6 separate regions of the Homo sapiens genome follow, and all the other regions are linked to region 6. The links are contacts of gene promoters, found by promoter capture Hi-C in blood cells and fetal thymus (Javierre and others, 2016). All regions are on one chromosome and are shown on one strand. Each heading gives the region's core, a stretch centred on a gene start or on the middle of the fragment in contact. The rest is flanking DNA. Distances are from core to core; before and after follow the strand shown. Region 1 holds the start of ANKRD27 (ankyrin repeat domain 27). Region 2 holds the start of CEBPG (CCAAT enhancer binding protein gamma). Region 3 holds the start of LSM14A (LSM14A mRNA processing body assembly factor). Region 4 overlaps FAAP24 (FA core complex associated protein 24). Region 5 holds the start of TRT-AGT1-3 (tRNA-Thr (anticodon AGT) 1-3). Region 6 holds the start of POP4 (POP4 ribonuclease P/MRP subunit).

Evidence for each region. The method cuts DNA at HindIII sites, captures the fragments that hold promoters and counts their contacts. A CHiCAGO score of 5 or more calls a contact.
Region 1: the fragment with the promoter of ANKRD27 here is called in contact with the fragment with the promoter of POP4 in region 6 in 1 of 17 cell types (total B cells); the score reaches 7.7 in total B cells.
Region 2: the fragment with the promoter of CEBPG here is called in contact with the fragment with the promoter of POP4 in region 6 in 1 of 17 cell types (non-activated CD4 T cells); the score reaches 6.0 in non-activated CD4 T cells.
Region 3: a contact is called between the fragment with the promoter of LSM14A here and the fragment with the promoter of POP4 in region 6, in 2 of 17 cell types (fetal thymus and monocytes). The highest score is 5.8, in fetal thymus.
Region 4: a contact is called between a fragment that was not itself captured here and the fragment with the promoter of POP4 in region 6, in 1 of 17 cell types (fetal thymus). The highest score is 6.3, in fetal thymus.
Region 5: a contact is called between a fragment that was not itself captured here and the fragment with the promoter of POP4 in region 6, in 3 of 17 cell types (naive CD8 T cells, fetal thymus and naive CD4 T cells). The highest score is 6.6, in naive CD8 T cells.

The regions. Positions count from the first base shown.
Region 1 is chr19:32,673,916-32,676,793 of GRCh38, reverse strand. It overlaps ANKRD27 (ankyrin repeat domain 27), which reads left to right and starts at 1,614. Exons shown (of 29, transcript NM_032139.3): 1 at 1,614-1,723. It overlaps RGS9BP (regulator of G protein signaling 9 binding protein), which reads right to left and starts at 946. Exons shown (of 1, transcript NM_207391.3): 1 at 1-946. The coding sequence starts at 530. RefSeq lists enhancers at 250-299, 1,070-1,179, 1,067-1,686 and silencers at 700-759, 1,330-2,059, 2,080-2,129. The HindIII fragment of the contact is 4,511 bases long and covers 1-2,878 here.
Region 2 is chr19:33,372,095-33,375,185 of GRCh38, reverse strand. It overlaps CEBPG (CCAAT enhancer binding protein gamma), which reads right to left and starts at 1,477. Exons shown (of 2, transcript NM_001806.4): 1 at 1,291-1,477. RefSeq lists a silencer at 881-1,690. The HindIII fragment of the contact is 8,186 bases long and covers 1-3,091 here.
Region 3 is chr19:34,170,993-34,173,856 of GRCh38, reverse strand. LSM14A (LSM14A mRNA processing body assembly factor) reads right to left here and starts at 1,353. Exons shown (of 10, transcript NM_015578.4): 1 at 1,094-1,353. The coding sequence starts at 1,214. The HindIII fragment of the contact is 4,496 bases long and covers 413-2,864 here.
Region 4 is chr19:32,973,896-32,977,072 of GRCh38, reverse strand. FAAP24 (FA core complex associated protein 24) reads right to left here. Exons shown (of 5, transcript NM_152266.5): 4 at 2,861-3,013; 5 at 1-642. The coding sequence ends at 391. Among named protein-coding and RNA genes, the nearest start is that of FAAP24, 3.2 kb to the right of the region's middle. The HindIII fragment of the contact is 3,940 bases long and covers 1-3,177 here.
Region 5 is chr19:33,175,041-33,177,913 of GRCh38, reverse strand. It overlaps WDR88 (WD repeat domain 88), which reads right to left. Exons shown (of 11, transcript NM_173479.4): 11 at 2,115-2,518. The coding sequence ends at 2,342. It overlaps TRT-AGT1-3 (tRNA-Thr (anticodon AGT) 1-3), which reads right to left and starts at 857; the gene lies at 784-857. LOC124904691 (a long non-coding RNA gene) reads left to right here and starts at 1,036. Exons shown (of 2, transcript XR_007067228.1): 1 at 1,036-2,873. RefSeq lists enhancers at 138-257, 268-327, 1,418-1,487, 1,200-1,964 and silencers at 498-857, 1,058-1,217. The HindIII fragment of the contact is 1,072 bases long and covers 1,001-2,072 here.
Region 6 is chr19:29,604,971-29,608,241 of GRCh38, reverse strand. It overlaps POP4 (POP4 ribonuclease P/MRP subunit), which reads right to left and starts at 1,959. Exons shown (of 7, transcript NM_006627.3): 1 at 1,917-1,959. The coding sequence starts at 1,923. RefSeq lists an enhancer at 1,817-2,306. The HindIII fragment of the contact is 1,017 bases long and covers 1,517-2,533 here.

The DNA.
Region 1 (2,878 bases), core at 365-2,864, 3.1 Mb before region 6:
GCTTGCACGGTCCAGCGGGGCACGTTGACCTTCATCTCCATGTTGTCGATCATCTCGCCCACCTGAAGGACCTCGCGCTCCAGCTCCCGCAGGTCCGCGACGTCGAAGTCGCCCTCCGCCTCGAGCCGCAGGCTGCGGGTGCTCAGCGCGCGCGCCGCCACGCCGGAGGAGGCGCCAGCCACACCTGTGCGCACCAGCGGCCGCCGCGGCGCGTGCAGCGGGAACGCGGCGCCCAGCTCCAGCGCGCGTCGCATGTCCGCTTCCAGCAGGTCCAGGCAGCCCGAGAAGGCCACCCAGAGCCGCTCGAACTCGGCGCGCTCGTCGGCGGCCAGGCCCCGGTCGCGCAGCACAGCAGTCAGCCGGGCGCAGGTGGACACCGCCAGCTCCTGCGCCTTCTGGCGCGTCTTTTGCAGCTCCTGCCGCAGGTTCTGCGAGTCCGCCGAGCCACCGACGGTCAGCACCAGGTGGTGGTAGCACGCAGTCGTCTTGTTGAGCCCGTCCAGCAGCGCCTTGCACTCCTCCCTCGCCATCGCGGTGGGCTCCGGCTGGGCCCGGCCGCCCGCGCCCGTTAGCCTCCCCCTCAGCGCGGCAGGATGTGGCTAACCCCCATCCCGGCCTTGGGCCGCGCGGCACGAACGCTCTTCATGGTCCGTGACTCGCTCGGCGCTACCGCCAACGTCCACGGAGCCCGCCCGGGACCCTCGACGTGCGCCTCTGCGGACGGGGCGCGCAGAGGGAGCCCCGTTAGCGGTCCCCCGCTCCCTCGTCCATCCTCCCCAGGCGCACTCCGAGTCACACGTCGTGTCTCTGCACCGCCCTGGCCTCCACGGTGGCTCCCTGCGAAGCTGAGGGTGCGGTCCCCATCCTCCGTGGGTGCCAACTCCGGGGCAAGCAGGCTGCAGAGCCGCGCGCTCCGCCTTAGGCGCTGCCAAGGGCGGCCGGGTAGGGTTTCCTAGGACCCGCCCACCCCGCTCGTCCCGGCCGGAGCTGCCACCCCCTGGATCAGTGGTAGGCGGGGCTCCACGCGGGGAGGTCACGTGTGGGTGGCCCATCCCTCCCTCCCCTTCGCCCCATCCGAGTTCTGGAATGTTAGCGCTCGGGAGATCCAACCCGTTCTATTTTACGGATGGGGAAACTGAGGCCCAGGTAAAAAGCGGGCCAGGCTCCCGCGGAGTTTTTGCCTGTGATGGGACTAGAACCCAGCTATACTGACTCCCGGACCCTGTCGGCGACAGGACGTCGGGTGCCCCGCAGGACTGGGCACCTCCGTGCCCCAAAGCGAGCAGTGACTGGCAATCCGAGGGGCTGGGCGCCGCCGGGGTCAGGTGTCCCTGCCGCGTTGCGCTCACGTTGGTCGGTGCTTCCAAGCGCTAACCCCACCTCTAGTGTCAGCCCGGCTCCCAGCCCCGCCCCTCACGTTCTGGGCACGCGCAGTTGCGGGCGTGGGGCGGGGCCAGCTGGAGTAGGAAGCGTAGGGAGCCGCCTGAGCCCCGCCCCCGGCTGGGCTGGACTCCATGATTGCTCTGCGTACACGTCACTCTGGGAAACGACGGTTTCTCATTGGGTCAGCTGTGGCGCGGCTCCGCCCCACGGCGGAGTAAGGGGTGGGCTATAGGGCCAGATCGCCGCGCGAGGGTGGTGGGCATCGAGGTCCCAGCAGCGGACGAGGGAGGTGCCGCCGTCGCCCAGGATGGGCTGGGAATGAAGCGATGTAGCCTTTTAAGTAAGTGTCCTCGCGCTGGCCTCCTCCTGCGCCTCCCCTCCCGCGGGATGGCTGCGCCTCGGGGCGCGGCGGCCGGGCGGGGCCCGGAGAGTGAGGGGGGAGGGGCTCCCTGCTCTCCGGAGTCCGCTCCCGGGTCCGCCAGGTGGCCCCGCGCCGCCCCAGCCCCCGCGTCCCCAGGTGGGTGCCCGGTGCGCAGCCGGCGCGCCCTGCCCACTCCGCCCCTCGGGTCTGGAGGAGGGGAGCGGTCGGCGCGGAGAATGCACCCTCCGAGCCTCGCTGCGTCGACACCGGCGGGTGTGGCCGGGGTGCCGGGTCCGGCGGTTCGGATCTGGCGGGGCGCGGGGCGGTCGCCGCGCGGTTTCCCGGAGGCCTAGGGTCTGCTGGAGGGGAGCGGCGGGTGGGGGTCCGAGCCGCGCGCGCAGCGGTTGTGGTTTCCGGGGGGTGATGAGGGCGCGGAGCGGGGAATCCCTGGCTGCCGGCCTCTCGCAGGGCGGGGGGGTCTCTGCATTCCCACAGGTAAAGATTGTTAAAGGAAAACTCTTAAGCACCGAGAGATGTTCCGGATTCTGAGTCTGTTCCGTCTTGTGGTTGAAAATGGACTGCCCAGGAGCACACGAGCCACGCGGTGCCCCCTTGGCTGCCCCACGAGGTGCAGGGGACGTGGGCACTCGCGGCCTGTGCTGGGCGAGGGAGCAAGGGACGGGTCTTCGCTGAGGATTTAGAGCATGCAGGGAACGAGGGCTGCTGGCAGTGCTGGAGGGACTGTGAGGCTGCAGAGAGCTCAGATTTTACAAGTTGATGGGTTTCATGGATAGAGGCCCCTATTTTGATTAAAAAATGCACTCTTCCCACTGGCCGAAGAGTAGAGCAGTGGATATTTTTTTTCTTTTCTTTCTTTTCGTTTTTTTCTTTTTGAGACAGGGTCTGGCTCTGTTGGCTAGTCTGGAGTGCAGTGATGCCATCATAGCTCATTGCAGCCTCAAACTCCTGGACTCAAGCAATCCTTTCACCTCAGCCTCTGTAGTAGCTGGGACTACAGGCGCATGCCACTATGCACGGCTAATTTTTAATTTTTTTTTTTTTTTTTTGTAGAGATGGAGTCTAGCAGGTTGCCTAGGCTGGTCTTGAACTCCTGGACTCAAGCCATGCTCTCGT
Region 2 (3,091 bases), core at 228-2,727, 3.8 Mb before region 6:
TTTGTTTCCATCTACTTTTTTTAAAAGCAGGTATTAAAAATAACTGAACCAGCCAAGTGTGCCCACCAAAAGCAGGAATCAAGAAGCTGAAATATGCTTCAGCTCCCTTGTACCCTGTAATTATTTAGCCTTGTTTACAGCAACTTTTTCCAGAAGCAGAATCGACCTTATGAACAGCTTATCCCAAATACTACTCAAGGGCTAACAGATGACCACATCTTAAATATCAAGAGCTTCTAGGTGTAGAATGTCTTCGTAAAGCAAGCCCTTATAGGATTTTCTTTTAAAATTTTCTCTGGGAGTCACATTTCTTTGGGAGAAGTCTGCCTTAAGTGACAACCTATTCATATAAGCAGTCAATTCTGACACAACTACCAATTTTGGTGTCACCCATCAACATTGAGACCTTTCTAAATCTTATACATTTCAGGATGCCAGATTACAGTATAAACTTCAAACAAGAGGAAAACCCAACACGTAAACCTGCGGAAGAGAAGCAACACACCAGCTGCCCTGGAAAACACTCTCCTCCCCCCGCGACACATGCATTTCCATCCTTCGCATCTGGTCACCTCCGCTGGCTGTCGGCCCTGCTCCGCTCCCTCCAACTATGCCTGCGAAGTGCTTCATTTCTTCTCTATTCGACCCGTAGGTGTTGCGTGTTCTTCTAAACTACGTTCAACAGTAAAGTGCAGGACATTCCAACAGCTCCACAAAGAAGCAAAATATTATCTCTGCAAAGTCATGCATTTAAAAACCAGTTGCTTTCCCTATTTTATTGATCAGTCTTTGAACTTCTGAACAGATTTTCGATCACCGCAAGCTGAGCCCTTCTAGAAGATCAGGATTCTAAAGCTCGACTCGGTCCACCTTCTGCTATTCTGGGAACACCCTTCATCCCCAGGGGCCAATGCGAGCCTGGCGGGTCACAGCGCCCGTTTCACCGAGAGGGGGCCGGGCTCCGCAGGGGGCATTCCCCGGCCGTTCGCGCGCTCCCGGCCCGCCGCGAGGGGCGCCCCGGGCAGCGCGGGGGTCGACGGGCGGCGCCGCAGCGCTGGGCCGCGGCCAGGAATGAGCTCAGCGTCCCCGCCGGGTGTTGCCGGCAGGTTGCATCAGACGCCGCGCGGCGCCGCCGCCCGCGCCTCCAGCCTCGCGTGGCCTTCCCGGGCCAGCGGGCCGTCTGGGGCCGGGGCTGGGTTTCCCCGAGCCGGGCCCGCACCCAGTCGAGCGGCCGGCGTCGCCGCGGCCTCCTCCTCCCCGTTCTCAGGGCGCCCGCCGCAGCCTCCTTACCTGCTCCTCTAGCCCGCCTGCCCCCAGGCGGCCTCCACTCCGAGCGGCCCCGCGCGGTGCGGCCCGAGCCGACCCAGGCCTCACAGCCCGCGAGTCAGCGAGGAGGAGCGACGGTTACGAAACCGGCAGCCTCCGCCCGTTCCGCAGCCGCGGCCACCGGCTTCCCCTGCTCGCCGGGGCCGCGCGCGCCGCCGCCGCCATCCCGGCCAATGGGAGCGCCGGCCTGCCGGAGGCACCGCCTTCTCTCGCGACGGGCAGCCCAGTCGACCAATCGTGGGCAGGCTGGCGGCGGGAGGCGGGCCCACGGTGGGGGAGTGGGTTCCGCGCGGCTGGCTCGGCGGGTGTGGCGGGAGCAGGGAGCTGCTTGCTGCGGCGTCCGCGGTCCCTAGGCAGCTCGCCCGGGCTGGCGGCGGCCTAGTGCTGTGGACGACTCAAGTTCGAGTCGGAGGCTGAAAAGCCGTCACCTTGTGGAGGCCAGACGTGCCTTTGGAAGCATTTTCTGAGGTGGTTTTGTGAACCACCGGCGACTGTTTTGGTTTCGCCGCGTCCCTTGGAAGCCCCCGCGGCGTCCCTCACAGAGTTTCTGCGAACGGAACGCCCCGCAGGCGGGCGGGCTTTGTCGCCGCAAAAAGAGTGGAGGCTGACGCGGTGGCTCCCGCCTATAATCTCAGCGCCGAGGGAGGCCGAGGCGGGAGAATGGCTTGAGCCCAGGCGTTGGAGAACCAGCCTGGACAACATAGCGAGACCCCATCTCAGTTACTAATTTTTAAAAAATCGAATGAACCCAGATGTTTCACACATAGGATTAGCATTGATGTCACATGGGTGAAATCCATGTGCTGCAGGCTGTGCTTTGTTGTTAGGGTGAGATGAAGTGAATTTCTTAAAATGATTCTCTTTGGGTGCCTTCCAGGTGCATGGGTGCGAGGTGATCTCTGAAAATAAGCAGCGATCCAGTGTGACTTAAAACTCGCCAGGAGAACCCGAAAGCGTTTTTTTTTTTTTTTTTTTTGAGACGGAGTCTCGCTCTGTCGCCCAGGCTGGAGTGCAGTGGCGCAATCTCGGCTCACTGCAAGCTCCGCCTCCCGGGTTCACGCCATTCTCCTGCCTCAGCCTCCCAAGTAGCTGGGACTACAGGCGCCCGCCACTACGCCCGGCTAATTTTTTGTATTTTTTTAGTAGAGACGGGGTTTCACCGTTTTAGCCGGGATGGTCTCGATCTTCTGACCTCGTGATCCGCCCGCCTCGGCCTCCCAAAGTGCTGGGATTACAGGCGTGAGCCACCGCGCCTGGCCCCGAAAGCGTTTTAACACCAGGAAGCAGCAGCTCGCTGGGCGGAGGGCAGAACTCGCCTGATAGGTTTAATTGCTTCCTCTTTAGCAACGCGTATCGTTCAAACAATTGAGGCTTTGAAAGAGGAAATGTTTCTTCAGCGCCCATGGAACCGGCTCGCCCCGTAAGATTGTTTCGAGGAATCAGTAAGATGATAAAGCAATAAATAAAAATTAAAAGGGGTCACAACGGTGAACAATGGGCTGGGCGCGGTGGCTCAGGTCTGTAATCCCAGCACTCTGCGAGGCCGAGGCAGGCTGATCACTTCAGGTCGGGAATTAGAGACCAGCCTGGGCAACATGGAAAAACCCCATCTCTACCAAAAATACAGAAGATTAGCCGGGTGTGGTGGCGCTGTGCCTGTGGTCCCAGCTACTCTGGAGTCTGAGATGGGAGGATGGCTTGAGCCTGAGAGGCGGAGGTTGCAGTGAGCTGAGATTGAGCCACTGCACTCCAGCCTGAGCCACAG
Region 3 (2,864 bases), core at 104-2,603, 4.6 Mb before region 6:
AAAATTTTACAGATTTCGAAAATCTTCTTCTTTATCCTTGGACCTAACCTATCCACAGGGTCCCTAACCATGCTATGCAGTTCCCACCTCTACCAGAAGTGCTGGGAAAATCACCTAGGTTATCTAGCTTCCCTCAAAGTATTTTACACTGTTGTGAGATTTCCTTTAAGATTCAGGAGCTAAAGTTTATTTTCTTTCTGGTTTCCTGGCGGAGCAAAGGCCCTGCACGTGTGAACGGAAACAAAACCCACACAGACTCTAGGGATGCCAAATATTAACACTGTGGGTAGGGGCACCTTCCTTCTCGGCCGAATTCCCTTTCCCAGAGAGCCTCCAGAGGGATCAGTCAACGCCCACTGAGCCTGGATCAAAGGTCAAGCTTGCCTGGTCAAGAAGGATCCTGGATCAAGCTTGAACCCGTTTCCAGAAACAGGGGCGTCGGGGCAGCAGCAAGCATTTTTACCACGCGCCCTAATGAGGTGGTTGCACAACAGGCTTTGAGGATTCCGGTTTAACAGGTAAATACCAACAGAGGATGAGCCGAGGGAGATGGGATCTGCTCCACGGCATCGATGGCATTTCGAGAATGTCTGCGTCGCAGAGCAAACCCAAAGTTTTAGCACATTACTCAAGAGTTCACCAGAGGAAGATCGCCACGAATTGAAATGAACAAAGTGAGAAAATGGGTGCTGTGTAGTCAACGCATCCGCGATGAACTCAAGCTGGGCGGAAAAATTCTTTGAATACTCCGGCTTTGTTTTGTGCTAAGACGGCAGAAGCCCCGAATTTCGGAGTTGGAAGACGCGTTTCTCCGTGTTCTCCGGCCCGTTCTCGGACTTCAGGGCCGCCCGCCGCGCACTCAGTCCCGTAGTTCCCCGGGCTTCAGGCGCGGACATTCCGGGGGGCGGAAACCAGGGAGCCGCGGGGAGGCCGCGGTCCGGCCCGCGACGCCGGGGCCCGGAGAAGGGAGGCGAGAGGCCTCCCGGAGCTCGACGGAGGGAGGGGAGGGAACGAGGAGGCCGCGGGCCGGAGCGGGGAGCAGCCCCGAGCGGCGCCCGGCTCGGCCCCCACCCTGAGGCCCGGTCCCGCGTACCTTTGGCAAGGGCTACGGTGGAGTTTTCGGTGTCGATGGTGTAGAGGATGCCCTCGTAGCGGATCTCCGCCTTGGAGATGAGGCTGATCTTGCTGCCGATGTAAGGGGTGCCCCCGCTCATGGCGCCGCCGCCGCCGCTCCCAGCTGCTCGCAGAGAGGCAGATCCCACGCCACTGTCGCCCGCTCCGCACGCCCGCTCGCTCCGTCGGCGCCTACAGCAGCCGCTTCAGACCCAACATGGCGGCGGCGCCGGCTCCGCTACCCTCCCCCAGCCTCCCGCCCTCAAGCCGCGGCGCGGCGGCGGCGGCGGCGGCGGCAGCGGCGGCGGCGCGGGGCATGCTGGGAGGGCGAGGCCGCGCTCTCGCGAGACTTGGCCGGCTACTGGTGGCTCCCGGCTCATTCGTGGCCTCGGGAGTCCCGGCAGCGCTTGTTGGCCTGGACTACGGTGGTGGTCTTGGGGCCGCGTGAGAGGAACTTCGGGGACCGGCTGAGTGCCTCGTGGCACCCGCTTGCTGCGGGCTGGAGAGGAGGCGCGCGGCCTTCCTTTTGACTCAGGCCGTGGCCGCCTTGTCGTGGGTCCTGTGTCTTTGCCGACGCGGGGCCCTCGGCCTGGAGCGCTGCCCACCCGCCTCCGAGCTGTGGCGAGCCGCTGCTCATCCTTCTAAGACGCTGAACCTGCACCTCGTGGAGCTCCTACGGCTCCATTACCGCAGTCATCGCCCGGGGAGCTTCCCCCGAGGCTGCCCCTGGAGCTGGGGCTCTCACAAGGACTCAAGTGTTTCAGCCCCTTCCTGTCCCGCTCATTCAGCCGGTCTGAACCAGTTTCATGGCTTGCAACGCCATTGTAACTCACTAATCCCAATTATCAGTATGTAGCTTGGATCAATTCCGTGAACCAGGGTTTCTGTCGAATCTCAAACGTTAAGGGTCCAAAGCCATGCTCCCTGTTTCCCCTCTAACCTGCTCCTTCACCACCGTTCCCTATTTGATGTAAACGGTACCATTTTTACTCAGCTGCTCAGACTAAAAGCCGTGAGTCAGCCTTGCCCTGTCTTGCTTCCACATCTGTTCTGACTACACCTCTCCGTTATGTATACACAATATATCCTAAATCTGACTTCTCATCTCCATTCCTACACTTCTCCCACAAGCCACGATTACTCGGGCTGAATTATTGCAGTAGCCTTCTAAAAGTTGCCTCTGTGTCAACTCTTGCCCCCAGTACTTTATTCTCAATACAGCAGCCAGAGAGATCTTCTTAAAATCTAACTCAGGGCTGGGCGCAGTGGCTCACGCCTGTACTCCCAGTACTTTGGGGGCCCGAGGCGGGCGCATCACCGGTCAGGAGTTCGAGACCAGCCTGGCCAACATGGTGAAACCCCGTCTCTACTAAAAATATAAAAAAATTAGCCAGGCGTGGTGGCGCGCGCCTATAGTCTCAGCTACTTGGGAGGCTGAGGCAGGAGAATTGCTTGAACCCAGGAGGCGGAGGTTGTGGTGAGCCGAGATTGTGCCACTGCACTCCAGCCTGGGCGACAGAGCGAGACTCCGTCTCAAAAAAAAAAAAAAAAATCTAACTCAGATCATGTCCTTCCTCTACTCACTCTACTGATCCCATGTTACACAGAGAGAAAACCAGACTTTGGTGTCTAAGGATATACATGATTTAGCTTCTCGTTCTGTTCCAGTCGCGTCTAATTCAACCAGTACTTGAGCACTTTATTCCAGTCTCTGCTCAAGCATCACCTCCAGAGATGACGTCCCTGACAGC
Region 4 (3,177 bases), core at 464-2,963, 3.4 Mb before region 6:
TTTCTTTTTTTTTTTTTTTTGTTGTTTTCTTTGAGACGGAGTCTCGCTCTGGTGCCCAGGCTGGAGTGCAGTGGCACGATCTCAGCTCACTGCAACCTCCGCCTCCCGGGTTCAAGTGATTCTCATGCCTCGGCCTCCCAAGTAGCTGGGATTACAGGCACCTGTCACCATGCCTGGCTAATTGTTCCTATTTTTAGGGGTTTCTCCATGTTGGCCAGGCTGGTCTTGAACTCCTGACCTCAGATGATCCGCTGTCTTCGGCCTCCCAAAGTGCTGAGATTAGAGGCGTGAGCCAGTGCACCCGGCCCATTCTCTTGGTTTTTAAAGCTGAAAACAAGATCCTGGTGTTTGTGGTCTCAGGAGAAGATGCCGTGGCCCTGAGGCCAGCCCTCACCTGGGCTGCGTGAAGAAGGCATGGATCTGCTGTGCCACTGCTTGTCCGACCACCTGCTCCAGTTCCCCAATGGAAGCATTACTCAGTTGCTGGATGCTTGGAAACTTCTGGAGGAGAAGGGGAGCTTTAACTTTTCCAACTCCTGGGATCTGCTGCACGGTTCGAAGGAGCGAAGGCTCAGACAGCAGCAGGGCCCGTTTCTTCCCGAGAAGAGGGTTCTTACTGGGCTCTTTGGTTTGCTCTTGAACCTGAACCACAATGAAAGCAACAGCACGTGAGCGCCCTCTGGAGGACTGGCCGTTTTCTTAAAATATGTTTTGTAGAAATTGCGTTTTTCCATTTGGCTCAGCTTGACTTAAGGGAACAAATGTTTTCATGTATCATGAATATAATTTCTCAGACATCAGTAAAATTATTGAAAGGTGAACCACACAAAGGAGTTAAGACATTAATTTACAAAAATGTGCGTTTTCAGAATGTTTAGAAAAACACACAGATGAATTCAAACACTTTCTGTTGGTCCATTAAGAAACATTTCAGTTGTGCAGGATTAAATGATGGCTACACCTAAACTAGGCCTACTTCACGCAGGAGCTGCAGGAAGCCTGCCTCAAAGGAGAAACCTGGTCTAGTTAGTGGTGGTTATACTAAGGCAGACAACAGTGTTATATCAAGGAAAGTTAGGAACGGTGACGCAAGGGATATAGTAGAGAGGGATCTGTGAACCATTCATGGCTGCTTGCATCTTCAATGTGGCTCTCAACTCTAGCTCCACATCAGAGGGGGTGATTTAAAAACAACACACACATAACAAAGAAAACAAAAGTGAAAAAAACAAACAACACACACACACAATTGATGTTCCCCATGCTGGGATCAGAGGCGTAAGCTACTAAACTGATTTTAAAAATAAGTGTTGGCGGCCGGGCGCGATGGCTCACGACTGTAATCCCAGCACTTTGGGAGGCTGAGGCGGGCACAACACCTGAGGTCGGGAGTTCGAGACCAGCCTGACCAACATGGAGAAACCCCGTCTTTACTAAGAATACAAATTAGCTGGGCGTGGTGGCGGGCACCTGTAATTCCAGCTACTCGGGAGGCTGAGGCAGGAGAATCACTTGAACTCAGGAGGAGGAGGTTGCAGTGAGCCGAGACTGCATCATTGCACTCCAACCTGAGCAACAAGAGCGAAACTCCATCTCAAAAAAAAAAAAAAAAGTGTTGGTTGGTGCGGTGGCCCAGAACTTTGGGAGGCTGAGGCAGGCAGATCACCTGAGGTCAGGAGTTTGAGACTAGCCTGGCCAACATGGTGAAACTCTTATCTCTACTAAAAATACAAAAATTAGCCGGGCATGGTGGTGGGTGCCTGTAATCCCAGGTACTAGGGAGGCTGAGGCAGGAGAATCGCTTGAACCCAGGAGGCAAAGGTTGCAGTAAGCCAAGATTGCACCACTGCACTCCAGCTGGAATGACAGAGCAAGACCCTATCTAAAAAAAAAAAAAAACTGCCCAGGCATGGTGGCTCACACCTGTAATCCCAGCACTTTGGGAGGCCAAGGTGGGCGGATCATGAGGTCAGGAGTTTGAGACCAGCCTGGCCAATATGGTGAAACCCTGTCTACTAAAAATACAAAAATTAGCCGGGTGTGGTGGTGCGTGCCTGTAGTCCCAGCTACTCGGGAGGCTGAGGCAGAAGAATGGCTTGAACCCGGGAGGTGGAGATGGCAGTGAGCCAAGATTGTACCACTGCACTCTGGCCTGTAGGACAGAGCGAGACTCCGCCTCAAAAAAAAGGGAAAAAAAAAAAACTTGCACAAGGTGCTGATGCTTAACAAAAATACGGGATGAGACAAAGCAGCTTCTAGTTAACATTTTCTTTCTTTCTTTCTTTTTTTGAGACAAAGTTTCGCTCCTGTTGCTCAGGCTGGAGTGCAATGGAGCATCTCCACTCACTGCAACCTCCACCTCCTCAGTTCAGGTGATTCTCCTGCCTCAGCCTCCGGAGTAGCTGGGATTACATGCACCCACCACCACGCCCAGCTAATTTTTGTATTTTTAGTAGAGACAGGGTTTTGCCATGTTGGCCAGGCTGGTCTCGAACTGCTGGCCTCAAGTGATCCTCCCGCCTCCGCCTCCCAAAGTGCTGGGATTACAAGCATGAGCCATCACGCCTGGCCTCTAGGTTGACGTTTTCACCAGCGAAAGGGCAGGATAATGACTGATGGAGCCATCACACCCTGAGAATCTAAAATCAGGTCTCCAACTTGTATACTTTGTGATACACTTGCCTGGAGTGTGTGACAAGCTGAGCTGGCTGCAGAGGCAGCTTCCGCATTTAAATTCCTCGAAGAGATTTTATAAACCAAGTCAGAGAATGACATAGATTGGATTGATGGTTGCTTCTGGAGAGCAGCTGAGTGTCCATGAGGACAGGACTACCACGAAGGTGTAGGAATCGGTACTCACCAACTGGATGACGAGGCAGGATGCTTCCATCTGGCTGGCCACTGGAAGCAGCACCATTCCAAGGTCCAGCACAGTAAACTTCTGTAGGGCTGGGAAGTATTGTTCACTCATCCGGGTTTTTTCAACGACTACAATTCCTTTAAGATTATTGGACTTGAAAGGAAAAAAGACAGTAAGTCATTTTGCAACCAAATTGCTTTTCAGGTTAAGAATGCTATCACTTCGTGCCTGACCTGGCCAATGATTTTAAATAAATGATACCAAGGGATGGAGGGAAGGGTGGGGTGAGACAAATCAATGTTCGAGTTTCTTTAATC
Region 5 (2,873 bases), core at 287-2,786, 3.6 Mb before region 6:
CCTCGAATGCACTTGCTCAGGAATAGGTTCCCACATACAAATGTGGGTAGAACCCCAGCGCTGAGCAACCAACCCCAGCCCAGGCAGCTGGCTTCAGCCCACACCCGGCCGTCTGCAGCTGGGGCAGAGTCCCCTGCCTGGCCTGGAGTTTCCACGCAGTCATCGGACTGAGGATCACGCTAACCGGACTCAGTCCCGCATCCCTCCACACGGGGTCCCCTTGGCCTCGCCGCCGGTCCAGGTCTTGCATTTGTGAAAAGGCTGCACCCACTGCGCGGCTGCAGGGAGACGGGCAATCTTCAGGCCTTTGCGAGGCTCAGCTAAGCCCGGCGAACGTCGAGGATCGGCACCCGCGTGGGCTCCCCCAAGTGGCAGCTTGGAGCCAGGAAGACTAGCGCGAGGAACCCACGCCACAGAAGGCGGCGTGGGAGAGCGCGTCCACCGCCCGCCCTGAGGAAGCAGCCTCGGGGCGAACACCGGCTCCTCGCTGGACTCGCACAGCTGCTTCCCAGCCCGCCGCTCGCCTCCCACGGCCAGCCAGCACCATGGCAACCGCGGTCGCCTGGGTCCCCGCGCCGCCTACGCCCCACAGAGCCTGAGACCCGAGAAGGTGGAGTCCGAAGCCCGCCTGCACCCGCCCCCGTGGCCGAGGCCACGCCCCGTTGGGGGGCCCGTCTACCTAGGCCTCTCGGGATCCCGCTCACACCCTCATAGTATCGGGCAGCCGGGTACAGAGCACAAAAGTGCAGGAGCAAAAATGGAAAGAGCTTGGACGCTCGGTTGAGGCACCGCTGGGATTCGAACCCAGGATCTCCTGTTTACTAGACAGGCGCTTTAACCAACTAAGCCACGGCGCCACCCGTACAGGTACTTTCCTAAACTATTCTTCATTACTATTTACCATATGGGCCGCGCGCATGCGCACACATTCGGCCTGTTGTGGCGCACGCGTAGTGTAGCTTCCGATTCACACAGGCAGCTGAGACTGAGACCGGAAGCTTGGGCTGCACGGAGCGGGCGGAGCCTGGGAAGGCCAGACTTCCTGGTCACGGTAATGTCTCTTCCAACGTGGAGCCAGGACGCTCCGCCTTTGGGGAACGCTGGTGCAGGGCTTGGGACTCAGGGCAGTGCGGTCGAGCCCCTACCCACTCCGGAGAACCCCCGGCCCCGCCAGCGCGGCCGGGCTGCTGGCTCCCCTGGCGTCCGGTCGAGGCGCACACCCGCCTCGGTCCGACTGTGACCCCGGTGAGCTTCGGACCATTCTGCCCCGCGACCTCAGCCTGAGAAGACCCGGGGCCCTGCCAGCTCCCGGGACTATAACTTCAGTTGAGTCGCTACTTCCGCGGATCCTGAGCTGGGGGAAAGTCGAGGGGTCCGGAAGGCTCAGGAGGGATCGTGGACTTCAGGGTTCCCAGGCTGCTGGCGTGGAGCACCAACACCTTACATGGAGGGGTTTCTGCTGCCAGAGCAGGCAAGGCCCTCCCCTCCCTAGTTTCTCACTGACCCCTTCTGGGTGTCCTCACGCAACTACACCAGCCACTGGTCTCCGCACTTTCCAGAGGGCCTGTGGGCAACTACGAAGCCGAACACTGCCAACCCATCCACCCAGCATCCCTGCAGCATGCACAGAAAGGTTCACCCAGCATGGTGTGCAATAGGAAACTAAGCTCCTATCTCAGCCTATTTCTGGATTGATGCACGCTGTGCAAAATGCCGTGGCAGCAGGAAGAGGGCTGCACATAAGCAAGGGGTTCTGGAAATTAAGACGTCTAGAGGAGAAAGCGTGAGACATCCCGTGATGGCAATGCCACCGCCACCCCCTTGCCTAACCAAACCGTCCTCTGCTCCGGGCAAGTGGCCATCTGGGAGCATTAGCCAGGGAGGCACTCATTGTGTCTTGCCATCACGTCCACAGAGGGGGCCCCACACCTTGTCATACTCATTTGACAAACTCTCCAGAACTGCTGGTGCCAGCCCCCACAGGTCACCTTACAGGGCAACTCCAGACTCCACAATGTGAGTCTAATATGTGTTCCAAGAATCAAACAGGATGAGCACCAAGACATAAAGCTTAGAAATAGCAAGACTGCTTTTCAGATGCACATGCACGCTTGTTTTCCAAAGGAATTAGATTTATTCTGCATGAAAACGGAAAGTGTTCACTCCCCAAGCTGAGAGCTGAGGAGGTGGCACTGTGCTGAGTCCAGCCAGGGCTTGGGTCCTGCCCCAGTCTGACAGGCCTGCTGAGCCTGGGAGGGGCCCAAGAGAAAGCCCCTGCAAAGCCCCGAAACCTACATGCTAGGTAGCCTGTGCTGGAGTCACTCAAAGGGGCCTGTGGCTGTCAGTCATCCTTGCTTCCCCTTGGCGGCGGTGAGTTCTCCCTTTCCGATGATGATGATGACGATGAAGTATCTGCTGGCAAGCCCCTTGTATCTATCCGGCAGAACACGCATTGGGTGAACATTTCAGAAGAGGTGTCACTCTTGAAGATGGAGAAAGGCCTGTCACATCTTTCGCACTGACATGGGATATTTTAAAAGAGCAGAAAGGAGGTGCTGGTCAGAGGTGATCCAGGCATGCCATTAGAATTCTCCCAGCTACCTTGAGCTGGGGCAAGGCAAGGGTTCCCCTCTCTGGAATCTCTTTTTGGTTTGTTTGTTTGTTTTTGTTTTTGTTTTTGAGACAGAGTCTCACTTTGTTGCCCAGGCTGGAGTGCAGTGGCACCATCTAGGCTTACTGCAACCTCCGCCTCCCAGGTTCAAGCAATTCTCCTGCCTCAGCCACCCGAGTAGCTGGGATTACAGGCGTGCACCACCACATCCTGCTAATTTTTGTATTTTTAGTAGAGATGGGGTTTCTCCATGTTGGCCAGG
Region 6 (3,271 bases), core at 710-3,209:
AACTACACTTCTACACTTATAGCAGAACAACTGCTTATTCAGAGATAGGAGAAGATGAGGTTGGTATTAAGAGCAAAGCTTTCTTGGATGCCTCTTATCCCACCCTCTGGCCACATCTATGCTAGAAGTTCCAAGCACATGGTTTAAAAAGAATGCTTCTCAAAATTTAACGTGTGTAAAAATCTCTGGGATCTTATTAAAATGCAGATTATTGGTCTCCTACCCTAGATCCTGAGTGTTTAACATATTCCCAGATACTACTGCAGGTCAGTGAATCACATTTTGAGTTGCATTGGTTTAAAATACCCCAAGTTAGAAGCTTGAGCACTTGCTAACAAGGTAACTCATTAAAAGTTATATGATATAGCTGTCTAGGATGTAGATGGTTAGAAATAGGTTTTGTTAACTGTAAGATGTTTAAAAAGATTCTTCACATTTTAATATGAAATTATAATGTGTCACATAATCGATGGTGTCCTGAACTGATAAAATACAAGTTTTTCCTTTAAACTCAAAATATACATTGGTCAATAAAGTTTCAACCTCTAAAATAAATTCCACACTTCTGTTTCTTAATTTTTTGAAAGAAGAAAACCATGGCACTGGGGACAGAGTACAGGTGTGAATGGAATAAGAATGGGACTACTAAGGCCTGGTTTATGAGCTAAATAGCTAGAAAATGTAATTTACACTATACTCTGTAAATTTAATTCCAGCTTTCTTGTACTTCCCTGAGAATGTTTGATGCAAGGTGGTTACAAGTTTTTTTTTTTTGTTGTTTGTTTGTTTGTTTTGATACTGGGTTTTGCTCTGTTGCCCTGGCTGGAGTGCAGTGGCACAATCATAGCTCACTGCAACTTCGACCTCCTGGTTTCAAGTGATCCTCCCACCTCAGTCTCCTGAGTAGCTGAGACTACAGGTGTGTGCCACCACACCTGGCTAATTCTTTTTTTTTTTTTCCAGTTTTTGTAGAGACAGGGTCTCGCTATGTTGTTGCCCAAGTTGGTCTTCAACTCTTGGCCTCAAGTGATCCCCCTGCCTCAGCCTCCCAAAGTGCTGGGACCACAGGCGTGTCCCACCACACCCAGCCAGGTATGTTTGTTTGATCAAGCAAACCAATGTGGTTGCAAGTTTTATATATAGCATCTAGTTCTCCCTCAAATGGAAGATGGGGATTATAAACTGTAGAGAGCAACTTGCGGGGCCTGATAACTTTGCTTCATCTGTTACAGGTGCTTAGTAACAGACTTGGAAGTCTTTCTGCAACAATACACATCTAACAATTACTGAACATCCATTACTTGCCAGAAACCTCATTACAAGGTACACATATTTTTTCTCATTACACTTATGTGCATGAGCAAACTGAAGCTCAGACATGCCGAGACAATCTACTTGATCATATAGGTAGAAAGTGGCAGAGATGAAAAATAAAAATTCTGATTGAAGGCCCAGTCTTAACGGTGTCTACACGCCCCTCCTTGGCACATGTCTTCTACCCCTAAGGACCAAAGCTTTGGGTTAGTGATATCATTCCCCAGCAGCTCTCGGCGCTTTGCATCAGGTTAAGAGTGTGAAACCAGCTCGCAGAAAGGAGCAGGATCTTGACCGCGGTCACCCCGGGAGATAGTGGCCAAGTTGAGCCAAGGCCTGGAACCCTCCTCTAGCATCGCACACCACTGAGCAGCCTCCGGGAGAACCTGCCTCCAGCCCTGACATCCCTCCCTAGCTCAGAGGTCGAGCCAGGCTAACCCGTGCTCCAGCCCTCAGTTTTTCTTAGGTAGGGTGGGCCCATTCCTGTAGCGGTTCTGTTAGGACTCCGCAGCAACAGGTAGCCCGGACCCATTTCACCCACCAGTACCAAGACCCCGACCCTTAACGTCCCCAACCCTCTCCAACTTCGCGGCCCCGCTTACTCTTCATTCTCGGACCGCTTCCGGCGCTCTCTGATGACGCACTGGCAGCTGCTGTCGCAGACTCTCGGAGCTCGGAGATGGCGCTATGCGTGACATCACCGGCGCTCGCCCACCTCGGGGGCGCATGCGCCTGGAAAGGGATTCGGCTACTGAGAACGTCGTAGGCGGTGTTGCTGAGCAGTGGGGAGGAGTGGGCTCGCTTCCTGGGGTCTTTTCCGCCTGCATCTTTTGGGGGACAGGCAGTAGGGTTGGGGTAAAGGCATGTGGAATGCTTGCTAAGGCCTGGAGTGGAGCGAGGCGAGGCGACTTGGAGAGGACTCGAAGGAGGTTGGGGATCTGGGAGGGCGGAAATGGGACGGGGACGGTGGGGTGAGGTCTTTGTCGTCCCTAATCAGCGCCCTTACGGATGAGCCGAGGCAGCTTCCGCTGTGAGCACGGGCACCGAAGCTGGGACAGCAGGCTTAGGTTCTAGTTCCGTGTCTGCTGCTAACTAGCTGTTTAACCTCGCTTAGGGCACTTCCCATCTGTAAGCCTCACTTGCAGTCTGTGCTGTGAGTGGGGTCGGCCTCACAGGTAGTGATGCGCCGCCTGGGTCCCTTTGATAGTTTCAGAAAGCTTTCTTGAGACTCAGAATATTTATTAGTTTTTATCAATAAAAAAATCATAGCAATAAGATCAAAGGTGGCTCACACCGTGGGAGGCGCAGGCGGGAGGATCTCTTGAGCCCAGGAGTTCGAGACCAGCCTGGGCAACATCGGGAGACCCCATCTCTACAAAACATTTAAAAAAAATTATCCAGGCGTGGTGGTGCGTGCTTGTAGTCCCAACTACTCGGGTATCTGAGGTGGGAGGATCAGTTGAGCCCAAGGAGTTTAGGGCTGCAGTGAACCTGGATTGCGCTACTGCACTCCAGCCTGGGTGACAGAGTGAGACCCTGTCTCCAAAATAAATAAATAAATTCCATATAAATAAATAAATGAATAAACAAACTCCATTGCTCAGTGGAAAGGTGCAGGAAGGCCTGGTGCAGACTTCTCAGCAGTGACCCAGTGTTGGGCAGAACTGTGGAGCCCCAATTTCTGCTGAGCACTGGGCCTGTGCTGGGTGGGAGAGAAAAGAAATACGGTCCCTTTATGCTAAGTCAGTGGTTCTCAACTTTGAGTACAGTATACATTTCTTTACAGGGGATTCTGGGAGTATGTCCAAAGGTTTTAGTTTGAGAAACATTGGCTTAAACAATTTCTTTGGTGGTGACCTTGTACCATTTTGATTTTAAACATTAGACTGCAGGCACTGAAATTGGTTCATCCCAGTGACCCCGCGTGCATTGACTTTATAAAATTTATGTATTAGTT